2 separate regions of the Homo sapiens genome follow, and region 2 is linked to region 1. Evidence: promoter capture Hi-C in human tissues and cell types (Jung and others, 2019). All regions are on one chromosome and are shown on one strand. The core of a region is centred on a gene start or on the middle of the fragment in contact, and the rest is flanking DNA. Distances in the headings are between cores, read along the strand shown. Region 1 holds the start of PTPRR (protein tyrosine phosphatase receptor type R). Region 2 has its middle 110 kb from the start of TRHDE.

Region 1 (6,117 bases), core at 2,138-4,637:
ATGCAACCACGGGTCTGGAAACCTGGGCTTTTATCCCGACTATGCTATTAACTACCACTTTAATACTCTAGATCTTCATTTTCTCACCTGTAAAATAAGCAGTTGGATGGACAATAACCACAACTTCCTTGTTAGGTGATCTATAAAAATCGGCTGCCATGGGTAGAGTAGTGTCCAGCTTCTCTAACAAGAACCATGCTTAGTAATCCTTTAGTGTTAATTTACCCAGAGATGCCACTTACACAGCATGGTACCCACTCCTCATTTTTCTCCCACAGCTATTATAGACCACAGTACTTCTCCCTAGCCAGAATGCGAGTCATAATCTTCTTTTTCCCCCCGATGGTGTCTTAGGCAACCATAAGCAAAATAATGGGAGATGGCACTCAAGTTGCAAGCAGTTTGCTACTTATCATTACAGGCATGGTTATATTGAAGGCAACAGTTCCTAATATAGCTAAAAAGAACACTTACATCCCGTTAGCACATTCCTCCCATCTCTAAAGCATTATAAGGTGTCATCAGTTCCACCAGCATAAAGCAGTTGCTGATACCCTGGGCGTAACCAAAATGGATCAATTAGCTTTACAGTTAAAGAGGCCTGAATGTATAGAATTCATTTCCCTTCTTTATGAAGTCAGCCTCTGTTCTGAGAGAAAAGTCTTCCATAAAAGTAACAAACTCACACCTTCAACAAGTAGAGATTAATATCTTGATTTCTTGATCTTTGTCATCCCATCCACTTATTTTCTTAATCTCCAAATGTATAGAAGCTTAGACCAAGGAGCTGTGTTTGTTTTAGTTCTGATGAAAAGCCCTAACAATGTTATTAGATAACTGTGATAAATTTTAATCTGATGACAGCTTGTGACCCACAAATTGCTGTTTAAAATTAAAATGCATTTAAAATGAAATTGGCAAGAGAACTATAATATTAAACTTACAATCTGCTGTGATAAAACACCAATGTATTTTACTATATTAAATATGAATACAATGAATAGTATCTTGCAATTGAAATATAAAAATGTCCTTAAATGCATTTTCTTATTAAATTAAAATTGGTTGATTAATCTTACTTTTTATCTTTGTTTTGCAAATTAAAAAGTTGAAGTAGAGATGGATTGGATTGGCTTTGGTAATATACCCTTTGGCAGAACTCCAGGTAAAATCTAGGGCTACAGGCTTCTAGGTTTCTCATCTGATGAGCAAAAGTCCTCATTTTTCTCATCCCGAATATTCATCTACAGTAAATCAAGACATGTTTTTCACATGCTTCAGTTTATTTATAACTTTTAAGATATAATTACTCAAGATGTATCAAATGTGATCTTTAAACTTTTTTATATGTTAGTTTTGAAAAAATGACTACACTGATATTGTTGGCAGACCAGCTAAATCATTGCTACCTTAGTAAGAATTGAGATTTTTCTGTAATGAATGTTTGTGTCAGTCTATTATTAAGCAATACTATAAATAAAACTCAACCCAATGTGTATGTTTTCATCCCACATTTCAGCATTGAAGAATTGTATGTGGTAACGAAATAATTCACTACAGCTGTTTGCAAATAATTTAATAATCAAGTCATAGCTATTTTCTACTTCTCAAAATGTGCCAAAGAACTATTGAAAACTCCACAATATAACATCATAATTATAACAATTAACATGTGTATTTAATAATAGCTTTAATAATCCTATGCATTATTTGCTCAAAAGATTCATGATACATTTAAATAATAGCGTTAGCTGGAATAAGAAAGTACCATATTTCACTCCTACTATTGTACACAGAGAATAAAATTCACCCACTCTTTTAAAAAAGATACTGCAAGGATTGTAATTTCAGAACAATTATTTTTACTCATTACCCCTAGAACATAGTATACACTCAGCAAATGTTGCTTGAAGGAATGAATGGATATGTGTGATTGGATGAGAAGCACACTCAGGGAAAATGCCTCGTCTCTGGTTGTTACAGGACTACTGCATGGACAACTGCTGTCACAGTAGGGTTTCTAAAATCTCCCTGCCATATTTTATTTTGGTTCATGTGTGTGTGACAATGATAAGGAATTCAGCCTAGCAAGTCTGTCTGCATTAAATAGAGGTGCTATGTATGCAAAAAGCAGGGACACCACATATAATATCTCTCAGGTACTTCCCAAGGTTTGCTTCCTCACGAGACTTGATATTGATTCTGGTGCCTCAAATCTATTTATATTTGGGAGCAGTCTCACTGTTACTCTTGGTTACACCTTATCAAATCTGTCCGAGGGACAGTGCCTAACCCAGGGTTGTCAGCTTTGGAACTGTAATTGTTTTTTTTTTTTTTTTTTTTTTTTTTTTTTTTAATATGCCAGCGGACGCTAGCCACGGTGCTGAAAGAGACAAGAGGATTCTATTTGAAACCTTTTCTTCCTCTTATTGGCTTAGAAAATTCGAGTGACAAGAGCAGGGGCCAAAGGAGCCTGGTGCAGCATCACTAATGTGAACCATGTATTTCGATCTTTTGGGCGGAGATGTGGTCCATCAGGTTACAGCCAATGCCTTCCTATGAGCGCTCGCTAGACCAAGAGACCTTATGAATGTAGTAGCCGCTGCAGTAGAAAAGGTTACATCTAGCAGGATGTCTTATCCCTCTCCTGAAAAATTGACAGTTAAGTGCATAGCCTAGAAACAAGAGCAGGGAATCTAGACGGAGGGGAGGCGAAGGGGGGAGCAAACCTGTATTCATATTGAAAATGTTCACTATTTTCGTATAAAGTAAAGAAAAATCAAGAGCTAATTTTAGGTTAAGTTTTCGGCCTCAGTTTTCCAACAGGTGCACGACTCCCTCACCCCTTCCCTGTCAGGTACTGTCCTGTTTTACCTTTTTAGAAAGGCTTTCTTCGCAAGGCAAGCTTTTCCTAGAGTCCTTAAGCATGTGCAGTTTCCCATCTCATGCACAGCTCCGGCTCTAAGCCTGGCAACCCCTTACCTGCAGCGTGAAGATTAAGGAGCAGGCACAGCGCAGGGAAGCAGACTGCTCTCCGCATAGTGTTTGCATTGAGAGGTGGAGGAGAAACTCCACCACGACCCCACTTCAGGTAAAGTGCTATTAGAAAGAGCCACCGCCAAGGGTCTTCTAGTCTCCGGGATTCAGGTCCTCGGCTGGGGTTTGCAGAGCAGTCAGTCTGTGGCGCCGACAGAAACCAGCACCAGCTTCAACCTCCCTAAGAGAGGGAGAGAGGAAGAGCAGTAGGAGGTTGCGGGTAAGGGGAACAGAAGCGCTCAGAGGCGGCAAATGCCTGGCCTTCTGGACGCCCAGAAGCCAAGGCGGAGACGGCAGGGTGGACTCCGCGCCAGCCCAGCAGCCCAGCAGCAGCGCCGCGGCTACTGAGCATGCCCAGCGCCGGCCCTCACGAGGCAAGGGAATTTCAAAGTGAAATTCCGCTTCTCCGGGTCTTAGCGGCGGCTTGGAGCAGAGTAGGCTCCATCGCTGGGGTGGTGGTTGGGGGTGGGGGTGGGGGTGGGGAAGGGGGAAGTGCGGGGGAGACACTTGCTGTGGTTACTAGGGACCCAGCGTCCATCACAAATCCGAAGGTGGGGTGTAGCTGAGTGAGAGTAGATGGGGGCACGACCACAGGAGTCAGAGGAGGGAGCTGATGACATTGTCAACCATGCCACCCACCCTACTCTTTCCCCAAATCTTGATTTACACGTGGACCGAGCTCACTGCTGGGAATTGGCATTTGCAGATTGACCAGCTTCCCAGGACTCGCCTACAGGAATAGAGGTGTCTTCCACTGCTGAGCATTCTGGCTGCTCGGGGGAAGCGTTCCCAAGGCAGCTTGCTTGGTGTAAGCAGTAACCATGTATCTTGGGGGTGACTTCGTCCTTCCTACAGCTTCCCCCTCTTTGCTTCTCTTTCCACTCTTTCCAGCTCAATGACTGTATTTAAACTTTCTTCTGACTCAAGTCCTCACAGTGACAGAAAGAAGTGAGAAGATACTTTTAGACTAGTAGAATATATCCATGTAATTGAAGCACAAGAAGGCACCTTTTTGTTTCGTGGAGGTAATTAACTTTAGTTTCCCTTTTACTCTTTAAGGTGAAAGATAATGGATCACGTCAGTGCCTGGACTCATCCGGCCCAGCTCTGTGTCTCTAGGGAGGCTACCACAGTCTGCCATTAGATGGTTTTTTATCCCTCCATCTAAGTCTTTGGAGTGTGGAAAGCCTTATTAGTCATGGCTAATTGCTGCTAGTCAAGTCAAGAAGTCCCTCAGCTAGACTTCTCTTTTAACTATCCCAGGGCCTCTGCCCTTTCTGCCTCTGTGTCTTTATGGACACTGTTGCCTCTTTCCCATTTTCCTCCACTTGCACCACCACCACACTAGTTTTCGAAGGTGTAATGTTGGTCTCACTTTTCCAGAAAGCCCTAACTCTAACTAACTCTAGATTACAGTGATCTTTCTCTTCCACAACACTTGTTTAGCCGTGCCTCATATTATTCTTTCAGACAGTTCATTTATCTGTGGTTTGTTCTACAGCACATTGAAGTCTCCATAAGAACTGCTGAGTTTTGTATTCCATTAACTTGAATAAAGTTGTCCTAGCCAAATAATTGGGGCTAACAAGTGCCCATTGAGTTGAGCTGCACATCTCATTCAGTGCTTTCTTTCTCCATCCTCTGTGAATTGAGACAACTAATGGGAAATAGGCTATCCACCAGAGCTTAAATTAGGTGGGACCTTATAAGATCAGAGAGCCCAGGCGGTACCATTTATTTCTTTTATGATTTATGTCATCTTCAGCTCTGAGAGACAAGGCCAGGAAGCACTCCAACAAGTGGGAGAAGGGGACAATGAGATGTACTTTTAATATCTTGACAGGCCTTCTCTGCTGAAAATAGAGACATATCTCCATGTCTAGCCCCTCTCTAGCAACGTGCTCCACCCCCTACTCCCCCATGCGTGTGGCACACTCCATTTCTGTGGCACTATCATTTCATCCCAAACCACTCTAAGCTGCAACCTCTTCTCCTATTCCTGATTCACTGTCCTCCAGTTTGCTTTTCCCGTATCACTTTCTAACAAACCAAAATAATTACTTATAAAATCTATTGTTTAGTATCTATTTCCCTACTCCCCCCCGCAAAACAGAATTTGAGCTCCAATGTTGAAGAACTTTGATGACTTTATTGATATGTCCCAACTCCCTAGAGCAATGCCTCATGCAAAATAGATACTCAAAAATGAATAAATGAAAATGATAGTTGACAAAGTTCAATACTGACAATTAACTCTTTGAAATTCTTACTGAGTCAACCTTTGAGATAATTTATTTAGCATTCTGTAAAGCTTAGAAGAATAACTCTTCTCATCTAACATCTGTTACTAGAAATGCTGCAGGGCTGGAGGTTAGGGAAAAATAATTGTATCCCACTTACAATAGGTCTATTTTTCTTATTTTCTTGTTTCCTAAAATAACTAATTATCAAACTTACATAGATCTCCAAGAATAAAATATACTTACTTATGGTAATGAAACAATGCTGCAGTAATGTTCTGAACCCCTTCCTTTTCCACAGATAATTCCAACATTTATTGGTGGGGCATTTAAAATTCCCATTATTATAATTGACTATGACTTTGCCAAAAAGCATCCTGCTGGCAATGTATTTTGTTCAGGGCTGCAGGTAGCTGAATTGTTAAACTATGCATGAAAATTCCGTTAGCAGCAAAAATTTCCAATTTCCAATTTGGCTGGATATATCATTAGAATAGTTAGTTCAGCATGGTAAAAATAACCCTGAGTGGGCTGTAATTTTGGTGACTAGACATTCATTATTAATTTACTTAGAAATGATAAAGTAACGAAAAAGGTCATATTCCTATGTGAGTCAATCTAATATCATACTTGTAACGGCTTCAATTCACTTTTTCACTAATTGGCTAATTCACTCATTGCTGTTCGTGAAGTCAAACAGCAATGAATGAATTAGCCAATTAGTGAAAAAGTCAACCACTTAACTCATACAGAAATATTCTGAGTCGATAGGTGCTGTTTTTCCTTAACTGTGATCTAATGCTAGTGAAGGTGACTTGGTGTTTTGGAAAAAAAGCTTGGT
Region 2 (6,117 bases), core at 2,119-4,618, 1.2 Mb after region 1:
TCATGTGTTTTAGGAAGATCATCTTAGCTGCTGTGTGAAGGAGCAAATGTTCGAAGTACAAGGATATTTAGGAGGCCATTATAATAGTTCAAGCAAGAGATGATGGTGGCTTTGATCTGGTGATAGTAGCAGAAGTGGTGAAACACTGTCAGGTTCCAAGTATACTTAAAAGGAAGAGCTAATAGGATTTGCTGATGGATTGGATATGGAGTCTTAGAAAGAAAGGAATCAAGTAAGATTCCAATAGTTTGACCTTATATACCTGGTGAATGGTGGTGCTAGTTTTAGAGTTGGGGAAGACCATGGAAGAAAATGGGAAGGGGAAAATAAGAAGTTCGTTTGAGTATTAAGCAGCAGATGCCTATTAGATTTTTCTGTGAAGATGTTGAATTGACTGTTGAATATACAAGCCTGGAACTCAGGGTCAGGTCTGGAGATGGAAATTTGGAGATACTGACATTTGGATAGTAATAAAAGCTGTAGAAATAGATGAACCAGATAGGGAGTTAGTTTAGCAGGGAAAAGAGAAGAACATTGAGAAAGGAGCCTGTGATTTGGAGATCAGATGGGAAAAGGCAAGAGGTAGGAGAAAGGTGAGAAAGGTGTGGCATCTCAAAAACTAAACTGAGTATTTGAGGGAAAAGGGCACGATCAGTGTGTCAAATAGTGCTGGGGAGTCATATAGGAAGAGGACTGAGAATTGACTGCTGGATTTCATATGTAAAGTTCACAATGTTCATGCAAAAATGTTTTGGTAGGAGATGTCAATGAAAGTCTGACGGAGAGGGTTTGGGAAAGAAAAGTGAGAAAATTGCAAGAGGATATAGGCAATGAATTTTTTTATTTTTTCTGTAAAAGGGATGAGAGGAATGGGATGAAAGCTAGAATGGAATACAATGGAATACAGAATCAAGAAAAGTTTGTTCTTAAACCAGCACTTGTACCCCGTGAATCTAAAATAAAAGTGAAATTATATGTATATATATAATATATATGTTTCATACATTCATATGTGTATATATTATATATATCTTTCATACATACTTATATATGTAGAAGAGCAGGCTCATTTGTTATGATGTGTGTGTAATTGCCTCTTTGTGTCTTTCAGTAATTCTCACCTTTTTATTGATTTATTAGTATTATTTTTATATTAGAAACAATAATTGTTTATCAAATATGTTGTAACTTTTCATTTGGGTTGCCATTTATTATTCAGTCTTATTTCTGGTATTACTTTTTAAATACAGTCATAAATTTGTATACAGTAAAGACTATTCATCTTTTTCTGTTTCAATTCTTGCTTTGGTGTTTATGTAACCCAGATGTCAGGTTTTCTTTCAGAATTAAATAAGATTTGCATAATCCTCTGTTCTGTTTTGTTGGAAGCCTTTCCTAAGATATCTGCAAATTCCTGATGGCTTATATCTTATAGCATTTTCTGACTTCATGAACATCTGATTTTCTGAGTCTATTTACTTCTTTTTGATTCCATGCTAACTTATTCACCATTCCTTGAATTTCTCAAAACCCATTCACACAAGAGATTGAGATTTATTTATTCTTACAAATGGCCAATCAATGTGCCAAGTGCTGAATACCCCTCTTCTGCCTTAAATGCCATTTTAATATATTCAGAACTTCTACATAAGCTTGGGTCTGATTCTAGATTCTTTAGTTAATTCTGTTTGATCTGTCAGTCTACAATATGATTTTAATTACAGTAACTTTATTTATTCATTTATTTAATATATTTATTGACTATGTAACATGTACCAATCACTAGCAAATGCTAAGAACACAGTGGTCAACCAGGCAAATATGGGTTTCTCTTTTTGTGAAGCTTAAATTTTAGTAGTAGAAAGTTACTGATAATTAACCACAGAATATGTTGAATAAAAACAAAAACAACAATAATTGTCAAGAAACACATACTTAGAGTACAGTAATAGTAATTCAATGATCTACTTTGTAGAGGAAGATCAGGAAAGACTTCTGATACTTTATTTAACATTAGACCTCACAACAGAAGGATGGGAATGACCCAGCCACATGAATTCTTTCAACTAGGCAGCGATGAAGCTAAGGCAATGGCAGAACTTCACTAATATGTATGTAGATGACATGATTCTTCTTCTTAGCAGTTTTGTATTTGTTAACCTTGAACTGCCATTTCTTCAAGATGATATATAATTATTTTTGACTATATGTAGGGATTTTCAAATCAGATATCTAACTTTGGCAAAATACGTTTGAAAATGTTATATCTTCCAATTATTTTGTTTTCTTCAGGCATGCCAACTAGCTATACATTGGACCTCTCTTGCTTTCACTTCATATCCATCTTTTTCAATTTAATTTTTTTCTCATCCTGTCTTTATTTCTGTATGATTTACTCAAGTCTGTCCTCTACATTATGGATTTTGTTTTCTCTGTCTTTTCTCTGCTTTTCACTGCTGCAAATACTATGTTAAGTTCTCCCATGGTGTTTCTTTTTTCTAATTTCTTTCCTTTCCTTTCCCAGTTCTCTTTTCATCTCATTTTGTTGTCATATTGTCTCATCTTACATCTCTCATTTTATAGCATTCTTGATCTTTCTAAGTGCTTTAGAGGTTAGTTATTTTCTAAATCTAATTGTGAAATTATCTCCTCCTAATTGTGCTCTTCTTCTACCATTCATGCCATGCTTTTATTTTTTCTTCTTTAAGGGGACAGAATTTTTGCATAGGTTTGATGTTCCTTTCTTCTTTTTCCTCTGCTATTTATTTCAAAAAAATTCTCTCTGGTTATGTTACATACCCACATTGTTGGCCAAGGTTTCTTGGCTGCCCTCCCTGCCTCTCTGATTTCCATTTGAATACTGCTAGGAACTAAGTTGGAACTCACAGTCAGTCAGTGGCTCTCAAAGTGTGGTCCACAAAACAGCAGCATAAGCATCTTCTGGCACTTACTAGAAGTGCAAATTCTTAAGCCCCCATCCCAGGTATCTTGAATCAGAATCTCTGGGATAAAACCCATCAATCTATATTTTAAAAGGACCTCCTCGCGGGCATGGTGGCTCATATCTGAAATCCCAACACTTCGGGAGGCCAAGGCGCGTGGATCACCTGAGGTCAGCAGTTTTCAACACTAGCCTGCCAAACATAGCAAAACAACATCTCTACTAAAAATACAAAAAAATTAGCTGGGCTTGGTGGAGGGCACCTGTAATCCCAGCTACTTGGGAGGCTGAGGCAGGAAAATCGCTTGAACCTGGGAGGCGGAGGTTACAGTGAGCCGAGACTGCGCCACTGCACTCCAGCCTGGTGACAGAGCGAAACTCCATCTAAACAAACAAACAAAACAAAATGAAACAAAACAAAACAAAAGAAAAAACTTCCTCATGATTCTTAGGAGTATGAAGTCTGAGAACCAATGGTTTAGATATGTTTCCCTGCTCCCTCTACCCCACGTAGTTCCCATTTTATTTATGTTCATGCCACAGTTCTAAATACTAGAATTCTGGGGCAATGTACTTCAAATTTATTACTGTTTTGTTGGCAGTATTTAGTGTTATATGGGTGTTTGAGTAGAACTCTTCACTGTCCTGGAATTCCTTTTCATATATTCAATACCAGAGATTTTTTGGTTTGTTTTAGTAAATACAAAATTATTTTTGGTTCCTCTCACCTCTATCTCCTTTCTCACTGGCTGCAAATTGTACCTGTATTGTATGACCTGCTCCTCTTAGTTGCTGATAGACTTTGCCACTAATAGTATGTGTTATTAGTTGTAGCAAATAAAAAATTTTGCCAGCCAGCTGCAGTGGCTCATACCTGTAATCCCAGCACTTTGGGAGGCCAAGGCTGGCAGATCACGAGGTCAAGCGATAGAGACGATCCTGGCCAACATGGTGAAACCCTGTCTCTACTAAAAATATAAAAGTTAGCTGGGCGTGGTGGCACTCGCCTGTAGTCCCAGCTACTTCGGAGGCTGAGGCAGGAGAATCGCTTGAACTCGGGAGGTGGAAGTTGCAGTGAACTGAGATCTCGCCACTGCACTCCAGCCTGGCGACAGAGCGAGACTCCGTCTCAAAAAAAAAAAAAAAAAAATTGCTGCATTGATCCAAATTTGGAAGAATATCTGTGATGTTAGCTATACATCAGTATGCTGCTATATACATTTAAGAGCCAGTGGTTTATATTATGTGTCTGGTCATATTGATTTTTGTGGTAGGTAAGATGAGAACTAGAGCCATGCTCCAACATAAGAGCTTTTTTTTCTGGGTTATCTGTGGGTGAACTGGAACTTTTGTACTGGAAGATAAGCTTTTTAGATTTGAGAACATATCCTGCTTTGTTGGCAGAAGTATAGGGAGAGGATTGGTTTATTTTCATATTTAAGAATGAGTTGGCTAATTTGGTGTGATGTCAAATGAAAAAGAACTTCCATATGGCAGATTACAAAGGAATCCAGGAAAACTTTTAAGGCTAACAGATATGTTTATTTGATCTTGATATGTGTTTTCATGGGTATGAACACTCATCCCATTGTACACTTTAAATATAGATAGTATATTGCATATTATGCCTTAATAAATCTGTTTTAAAAGCTCCATGGGTTTTGTAGGCATGTCTATACAGTTTGCCCAATAGTATGGTTTGTGGATGTGGATCATTTACTATGGCACTTAGTAAATTTTCCTGTCTTCCCATCATCCATAGGACAGAGAGAAAGTATGGCAAGACATACTGGCTTTGTTAGGCCTATCACTGTGATTTTTGAAGTGTTTCTGATACTCAGTGAAAAACGTACTACAAGATATTTTGGCTAACATTCATCCTAGCTCTCTTCTTGTATGCTGAGAATGGAAAGCAGAAACAATATTCCTAGACTCTTTAGAAATATTATTGCATGAGACTTTGATTAGAAGAATGAATGTAGCAGACAGAGGTAGAATATTGGGGCACAGGTTGCTGCAGAGGTGACATGGTTCTGGAGCCAGCATATTAAGTGGTGACCTCCTAATGTGGAGATGGTTTCCTGATCCAGATTCTTCCTGTCACAGTGGTGGCAGTGTTTCAGTCACATCAGAATTAGTATGGTTTTGCAGTCAACAATAGTGCAAATAGACTCCTGATTTATTATCTTCCTGCATTGGCGATGGTTGCTTTTTCATTCACAGTAGTGGCAGAATGTTTCTGAGGGCTAGAAGTTGGTCCTGGGAGATTAGCCTGGAGCCAGTTCCTCCAGCTGTTCAAATTTATGTAAGCACTGAATTCCCTACATAAAACTCTTTCTGCTTAAACTAGTTAAAGTGGATTCTGTTGTGTGCAATGGAGCTCTGAGTGATAAAGTAATTAGCAGAAGTGGTTGCAGGCAATAGAACATAAAAAATAGGACTTTATTGTATGTACAGGCTATTATGGCACTGAGTGAGCAATTACTTAAATTATCACTTCTGGTTATCTGAAATGCTATTGAAGGCAAGGATTTGGAAGAGAGAATGACTATTGTGATAGACAATCATAGGGGGCATGAGGAAGAAAAGGACTTTGGGGTGGGTTTTTTTTTTTTTTTTCAAATTGTGTTTGTGAACGAAAAGAAAGTGATAGGCTCAATATTTTAAATTCTTAGCTCTAGGAACTGTCTGAGAATCAAGGAATTTCTACAACTGTTCTCGAAAAAGCTGTCATCTTTTGTAGCCTCAAGACTAATTTAGATGGAAATCAGATGGAAAGCCTGATGCTGCAGTTTGTTGAATTATAAGGTAGGTTGAATTTACAGTTTTACCATTTGTTTTTCAAAAAATTGAAAACATTGCCTTAGAATGAGATAGACCTCATCATTGAAAGGGTTTCATTTAGGAGGATTTGAATATATATGCATACCCTTGAACCTTACCAAGTCTCTCTTGCCAGCTAAAGCAGCTCCTCCTTTGCCTGATGATGTTGATTTTGCCTCCCTTGAATACCTATAACAGCTTGTCTGAGGCAGGTTCCTCTCAAAGGGATGACGGTTCTCTTCTTGCAGTATCTTTACTAACTTTATTGTTACCACATCCATAGCCAGTCAGATTCCTGCATATCTCAGGCAACAATTGCAATGTCAAGCCTTAGGGGAAAAGGTTTTTAAATG

What was found. Contacts are between HindIII fragments. The study calls those that stand out against the background at their distance.
Region 2: a contact is called between a fragment that was not itself captured here and the fragment with the promoter of PTPRR in region 1, in 1 of the 25 tissues and cell types used here (spleen).

What each region holds. Positions count from the first base shown.
Region 1 is chr12:70,917,351-70,923,467 of GRCh38, forward strand. PTPRR (protein tyrosine phosphatase receptor type R) reads right to left here and starts at 3,388. Exons shown (of 14, transcript NM_002849.4): 1 at 2,983-3,388. The coding sequence starts at 3,040. The HindIII fragment of the contact is 3,890 bases long and covers 1,840-5,729 here.
Region 2 is chr12:72,157,360-72,163,476 of GRCh38, forward strand. It overlaps a transcript of TRHDE not described here. Among named protein-coding and RNA genes, the nearest start is that of TRHDE, 110 kb to the right of the region's middle. The HindIII fragment of the contact is 5,110 bases long and covers 814-5,923 here.